Linked DNA regions of Homo sapiens: region 1 is linked to region 2. Evidence: promoter capture Hi-C in 16 types of primary human blood cells and fetal thymus (Javierre and others, 2016). All regions are on one chromosome and are shown on one strand. Each heading gives the region's core, a stretch centred on a gene start or on the middle of the fragment in contact. The rest is flanking DNA. Distances are from core to core; before and after follow the strand shown.

Region 1 (3,697 bases), core at 995-3,494, 570 kb after region 2:
GCTTTGGTGGCGTGCATCTGTAGTCCCAGCTACCCGGGAGGCTGGGGCGGGTGGATAGCTTGAGCCTGGGAGATAGAGCCATGATCGTGTCACTGCACTCCAGCCCCGGTGACAGAGTGAGACCATGTCCCAGAAAAAAAAAAAAAAAGAGTATTAACAGTAGTGGTGCATCAGTAATGAGTTTGAACCCCAACAATTCACTGGCTTGTTTTCTACCATGGTATTAACACATGCAGAAAACCACCTGGGATATGAGTGCAATGAGACTTTTATAGCAATCCTACCCCTTCCTAGTAAACTGGCCCCCACTAACTACAGTTAATTGTGTCCTGCTGGACACATCTGCAGTTTTGGTAGCAGTTGCTTCATGGTGGAGCTGGGAAAGCTGCTTTTTTTTTTTCCTTTTTTTCTTCCTTTCTTTTATTTTTTTCTTTATTTTTTGAGACAGCATCTCACTCTGTTGCCAAGGCTGGAGTGCAGTGGCGCAATCTTGGCTCACTGCAACCTCCGCCCCCCAGGTTTAAGCAATTCTCTGCCTCAGCCTCCCGAGTAGCTGGGATTACAGGCACGTGACACCATGTCCAGCTAATTTTTGTATTTTTAGTAGAGATGGGGTTTCACCATCTTGGCCAGGCTGGTCTTGAACTCCTGACCTCGTGATCCACCCGCCTCGGCTCCCAGAGTGCTTGGATTACAGGCGTGAGCCGCTGCACCCAACCTAAGCCACCACGCCCGGCCATAAGCTTCTTATTTGTAACGGTCTAAGAAAGCAGTGGATAAATAATTAGTTGAGCGTGGTAGCTCTCATCTGTAGTCCCAGCTTCTTGGGAGGCTGAGGTGGGACAATTGCTTGAGCCCAGTAGTTTGAGGCTGCAGTGAGCCCTGATGGTGCCTTTTCACTCCAGCAGGGGCGACAGAGAGCGACCCTGTCTCAAAAGCAAAAACAAGAAGGTAGTGGCTCCTACTGGGGCTCAGAAAGCAATAACCCAAAATATGGCTCCTTGGTGTGCTGTGAATTAAAGAAGAATAGAAAGCCTCAGAAGCAGCCTCAAAAGCAAAGACTCTCTCTGACCATATCCTGCCCTGCTGTCTCCTGCCCCTTCCTCCTCCAAAGGGAGTCATAGAAAACAGAATCTGTCTTCCCCAAGGGAGGAAATAGAAACCAGAACCTCTTTTCAAAGCAAGCCATACCAGTCTGGGAAACATGGCAAAGTCCCATCTCTACAAAAAAATACAAAAAAAAATTTAGCTGGGCATGGTGGTATGCACCTGTGGTCCCAGCTACTTGGGAAGTTGGGGTGGGAGGATCACTTGAGCCTGAGAGGTTGAGGCTGCAGTGAGCCATGATTGTGCCACTGCACTCCAGCCTGGGCAACAGAGCAAGACCATCTCAAAAACAAAAACAGTAACAACAACAAAAAGCAAACCACAAAACCTAGAAATATTACTCTAACTTTCCCCCGCCTTTCTGTGCATGAGCTGGCCATAAAGAAATTCTCTGACCTGCCTTATCTAACAGTAGGTCATAAGACTGCCCCATACCCAGGAGGAAGGAATGCTACACAGAAAGGCCAAGAAGAATCTGAAGAGATAGTCCTTGCTGGGTTTCCCCACTTAGTCCATTACCATTAGATCGCACTTTTTGTCCAATCACATTTCTACACAATTGTCCACTCTTCGTCAAACCTAAGCAGAAAAATAAGACAGTTTTCCCTGGGTCTTTGGATTCTTCCTATCTGAAGCCTGCTGTGTCACATAAAACTTGGATTGACCACATTTGTTATGCTTTTCTCTTGTTACCCTGTCTTTTGTCACGGGGGTGTTGGCCATGACCTTTATGATGGGTGAGGAAAGGTATCACACCTTCTGCCCCTATACTCCCAAAGTTGTGAACCCTCAGGGCTCTGGGGGGTTATTAAAGGAGGGGGGAGCCCAGTGCTCAGCTAGCATTACTTGTAAAGCAGAGTTATTAACCCGGGGTCCACTGGCTCCTTAGCAAGTCTGTGAATGTCCTGGAGTCACATGCAGTTTCATGTGAGTGCCTTTTTCTCCCTAGGGAGAGGGCCCATTCCACATCTTTTATCTGATTTTCCAATTGGTCTGACTTTTCAGAAAGGATAATCATTCTTGTAAATCAGGAGTTTGCTAATGGCACACAGGCCAAATCCAGCCCAATGCTGGAATTTTGTACAACCCACAAGCTAAGATGGTTTTTATATTTTTAAACGGTTGAAAAAATTAAAAAGGAAAATATTAATTCATGACACATGAAAATTATATGAAATTCAAATTTGTGTCCATAAAGTTTTCTTGGAGTGCAATCATGCTTATTTGTTTACAGACTATCAGCTGCTTTTGTGCTACAAGGGCAGAGTTGAATAGTTACAACAGAGCATATGGCTTGAAAAGCCTAAAATATTGCCTATGTGGCCCTTTTCCAAAAACGTTTCCTAACCCTTGCCAAACATGGACCAGATAACACTACTTCTGACTATATATGTACCTCTATTTTTCACTTCTATGTAGATACCATTATGATTAATAAAGTTTAAATTCATGTTCTAATATAATTAATGCAGTAGATGTTAGTTTTTTGACCCCTCTCACTCTACTATAGAATTCCCACCATGTGAGTCTTGCTGGGGGGACAGAGTCCACCTCCCCACACCAAAGGTCAGATTTTCTTTTCTCCCGCCTTCTTGGCAGCCAGGACATGGACATGTGACTTGAGATCAGCCGACTAGAGATCTCAGCTAGGACTAGGAAGCTGGAGTGAGTCACACAAAAATGAGAAATCACTCTGGCAGTAGCGGAGACAACAGAAGTCACATCTAGCTTCCAGGAGCAGCAGGGCCAGCAGTTCAGGTGACTCCTGTAGCAATGATCCACTTGGAGTTGCATGTCAGTAGTGTCCTCACCAGACAGTCCCTAAGGCATGGTTTTGTCTTTGGACCTGCTGCCCGGCTTCTGTTTCTACTTGGCCAGGACGAGCTCAGGCAGTAGATAAAACTGAGTCCGAATCACTCACTGCCTGGAGCAGAGAGAAGCTGAAGGTCCAGGCTAATAAGTATGAACTCCAGGAGGACAGACAATGGCTGATGTATCTTTGTGTCCTTGGCACCCAAGACAGTGCCTGGGTCCAGACTTTGGGAGCTAGGCAGTTCTGCATCAGGAGTTCACTCACATGGTTTGCAAATTGCTGCTGGTTGTTGTTGGGAGGCCTCAGCTGCACTCCGTGTGGAATTCTCCACAGGGTGGCTTGAGTTCTCGTGACATAGCAGCTGGATTCCTACAGAATAAGCAATCCAAGAGCCTAAGGTGAAAACAGCAATACCTTTTATGATCTAGCCTCAGAAGTCACCCATTGTCACTCTGCCATTCTTTATTAGCCACACCCATCAGCTCCAATTCAATATGGAAGTTAACTATACAAGGGCATGAATACCAGGAAGTGAGGATCTTGGGGGCCATGTTGGAGGCTACTATACTTCACATGACCATTAACCCCTAAAACAAACCAAATGAAGGACAGATAAAGTGCGGACCATACATTTAGGTTGGTTTAATCAAAACTTCTTTGGTGGACTTCTTGATCTTCAAAATTGTGTATGCCATCTAGCCTTCTCCACATTTGTTCCTTATCTATGAAAGGGTCCAGGACTCTCCTTGGAAGGAAGGAAGGCCCAATCTTAAGGGT
Region 2 (3,534 bases), core at 1,035-3,534:
AGAGTGTTTTTAGGCCGGGCGCGGTGACTCATGCCCGTAATCCTAGCACTTTGGGAGGCCTAGGCGGGAGGATCTCTTGAGCCCAGGATTTCGAGACCAGCCTGGGCAATATAGGAGACACTGTTTTTTTTTTTGTTTTGTTTTTTGTTTTAAGTGTTTTTAAAAGCCGGTGTTGGGGCAGACAAGGACATCACACACTGGGAGGTACCCTGCGGGTGGGAAAGGGTCGGGAAAGACTCCCTCAGGAAGTGATGTTTAAACTGAAGTCTAGGGGATTAGGAAACGGAGTCTCTGAGAGGGTGAAGAAATATTACATACCAGTATGAAGCATGGCCTGAGTGAGGTCATGCTCCAGGGCCGAACAAGGGGTTATGGATGCTAAGTGGGGGTGGGTGTCCGGAGGAAACAGAAGGTTGGTGGAGCAAGGCCTTAAAGACAAATAGGTTGACATGGAGAGATGGGTGGAAGAACTTGAGCCAAGGGCAGATATTATTGTTTCTCCTCCTCCCGCTTCCCAGGGAAGCAGCTCTCATCTAGTGTCAGTAAAAACAAATACAAAGTTATAATTTATTGGCCACCTAGTATGTGGTGGCAATTTTCATGAATTCTCACATGTTCCTTGCGAGACAAGTATTCTTCTTCCAGTTTTACAGATCTAGAAAAGGCTTGGAACGGCTAGAGACGCTTGCTAAGCCTGGCCGTCAAGTAGGCAGCAGAGCTAAGATTTGAAAGCATGCCGGCCTGCCTTCCTAGGCAGACGCACTTTCCACAACGCATCACTGCCATAAAAATCCCAGGCCGAGGCTTGCTCTAACAGCAAATACCACTTGGAAAAGGACAGATCTTTGAGGACCCAGAAATACTTCTGGGGAAAGGATGAGCAGAGGTGCCCCCGGTGGGTGGATACCATTAGGCAGAGGTCTATGCGGAAGAGGCCGACTTGTGGCGTGGGAGGTAGGGAGGAGTAAGAAGTGATTGACGGGGCGTCCCTGGCTGCTCTAGGACTGCATTGCGGGGAGGTGCCCGGCTCTAACCACTGCCCGGCCCGGTTAATCATTTCCTGACCTTCCTTCCTCCTCTCGCTCTGGCCGCAGGATTGCCACATCAGTCTTCCCCCTCCTCCTGCTCGCCTTCTGGCCCCGAGGCTCCTTCGCCGGGTTTTACAAGGAGCCCCAACTTGGAAGCAATATTTGTAATAGCCCCGGACGTCCTCAAGTGCCCCAGTGAGATCGCAGGCTCGATCCAGGGTATGCCGGCCCAAGCGGCCCCTTGAGGCTTGCCCTCTTCTCTAATCCCTCACTAAAAAGAGGTCAGAGGGTCAGGGATCCAATCTCCATACAGATCAACAAGTTACAGACTCGGTTTCCCCCTGCGGTAAAAAGGGGATGGTAACAGCTGGTAGGGTGTTGCGAGGCTTAAATGCGGTATGGGAAGTGCCTGGCTGGGAGACCTTAGGTATCTAACAAATGCTAGATCCCTTCCCTTCTTATCGCCTGGTAATGGGGAGTTTAGCTTGCCCAGCAATCCCAGGCTACGTTTATCTCACTTGAACTTCCTGGCTTGAAAGTCCTACGATGTGCTGGAGGTAACGCAGATGGTGAGTCACAGTGACAGGATTTGAACGTGGGTTCATGGGCGCCCCTGCGGGCCCACCCACGCAGCATCTAGGTGGCTGGCTAACGCCACGTGTTCAGAACCTAGAAAGGGCTACGGATCGCACCTGCCGCAAGGAGCCTAACGCTAAGTCGGGCGGGACTGCCCTGGCACCCATGAAACCCGCTGCCCGCCTCCCCCGGGGCCAGGCCCTTGGCCTCCCCAGCTTGTTTCTTCGTGTATAAAATGAGGGCCACGGTGCCTGTCTGCCCGAGAGGTTTTAAAGTTCTTCTTTACACTTTGCGGAGCGGCCGGATTTTTACCACGAAGCCACCGAGTAGTCCGCACCACATAGGTTCAGTATCCTCCGCCCACCGCAGGAAACGCCGCGGACGGCCCGGGGTGCCCTGCTCGGCGCCCCACCCTTCCCGGGGCCGGGGAAGCGGCGTGACTAGGAAAGTCACTTCGGAACACAGCCGGACTCTGCGCCACCAGCTGGAGCTCGCCGGGACCCCACCCCGCGGGCTGGGCGGGGGCGGACCCGGGGGCGGGGCGGGGAGGGGCCGGCCTGGAAAGGCGGAAGCCTCCAGTCTAGGGGTGGCTGCAGAACCCGGATCTCGGAGTTACACGTTCTACGGAGCGGGGCGCCGGGAGACGGCGGGCGAGAAAACCCGGCGTCCGGAAGCCCGTGCTTTCTTTGACGCAAGGGCTCGAGACGCAGCCGCCGTCGGCCGAGCGCCCGGCTAGAAGCGACACCAGACGGAGCCTCCGGAGTTCCTCCGCCCCCACCTCGCCGGGTCCTGGAGCCGCAGTCCTCCCAGCTGCCCTCCTCGTGGCCATGGAGTGTCCACACCTGAGCTCCAGCGTCTGCATTGCTCCGGACTCAGCCAAGTTCCCCAACGGCTCCCCGTCGTCCTGGTGCTGCAGCGGTGAGTGCGGCCACGGGCCGGCCCCGCAGCGCACCCGAGGCCGCGGCTCTGCCGGGCCTGCCGTCTAGGGGCCGCAGGCGGCCGGCGCGCGGACTCGGGGAGGGGCGAGGGCGAGCCGGGCCCGGCGGGCTGGGGAGGGTACGCGATGAGGCGGGCGCGTGCGGGAGCGGCGGCGGCTCCTTTGTTTCCCGAGGCCCGACGGCCGGGCCAGCGAAGGAGAGGGCCGCGAGGGGCGGGAGTCCGCGGAGGCCTCGAGCGCGTGGGGGCAGCGGCAGGCGGGGACCCTGGCCAGCTGCGTGCGCCCTTGCCCCGCCCTGCCGTGGCCGGGGGCTGTGCCCGTCCGTGTTGCGGGGTCGCCTGTGGGGCGGGTGTCCGGCCCCCGAGGGGCGGCCGCACGTGTGGCGGGGCCCGCGCCGCGCTTCTCCGCAGACAGGGCGGGAAGAGCGCCGCTCTCCGGGCGCAGCTTTGTCTGGGCTGCGGGGCGCGCGGGGCTCCTCTCCTCCGCCGAACCCGGCCCGGGTTTCCTTTCCCTTCTCCGCAGGCTCGGGCACCTCGAAACCCCGAGAGGCGCTGGGAGCTCGGGCGGCGGAGGTCGGGGTCTTTCATCCGTCAGGGATGGTGAAGTTTGAAAACAGGCTGCGGGCTGAGAAGCTCGGAGGCTGAGCCAACAGCTGCTTTGGAGGGGACTGCTCGAGTTTGTTTTTCAGACCTTTTGGGTTGTCCGAAAATGCGTTGGGATTCCCAGTTCCTGTGTTGTGAAACACTTATTAGATTTATATAAGGCTTTTGAGTAGCTTAAGCGTTTTAACTCCTGCTGGCCCCCTTGGAAGCCCCAGTGCCCTCTCATTGTCTGCTCTAAGCGACTTCTTAGGATCGCACCGGCCACACGGCTTTGCTTACTTCCTGGTAGGGCCCTGGTGCCACCGCTAGTCTTTGTTTATTAGCTTTGAGATGGTCACTGGTATCTTGGGTTATATTAATAGCGTACAATTCGAATTGTGCACTTCAGAAA

What was found. The method cuts DNA at HindIII sites, captures the fragments that hold promoters and counts their contacts. A CHiCAGO score of 5 or more calls a contact.
Region 1: a fragment that was not itself captured here is called in contact with the fragment with the promoter of USP3 in region 2 in 14 of 17 cell types (non-activated CD4 T cells, naive CD8 T cells, endothelial precursors and 11 more); the score reaches 11.0 in non-activated CD4 T cells.

The regions. Positions count from the first base shown.
Region 1 is chr15:64,068,745-64,072,441 of GRCh38, forward strand. No RefSeq gene overlaps it. Among named protein-coding and RNA genes, the nearest start is that of CIAO2A, 23 kb to the right of the region's middle. The HindIII fragment of the contact is 3,006 bases long and covers 742-3,697 here.
Region 2 is chr15:63,502,309-63,505,842 of GRCh38, forward strand. USP3 (ubiquitin specific peptidase 3) reads left to right here and starts at 2,285. Exons shown (of 15, transcript NM_006537.4): 1 at 2,285-2,522. The coding sequence starts at 2,432. RefSeq lists enhancers at 565-1,358, 837-886, 1,359-2,151 and silencers at 1,877-2,216, 2,567-2,676, 2,747-2,946, 3,017-3,096. The HindIII fragment of the contact is 11,052 bases long and covers 1-3,534 here.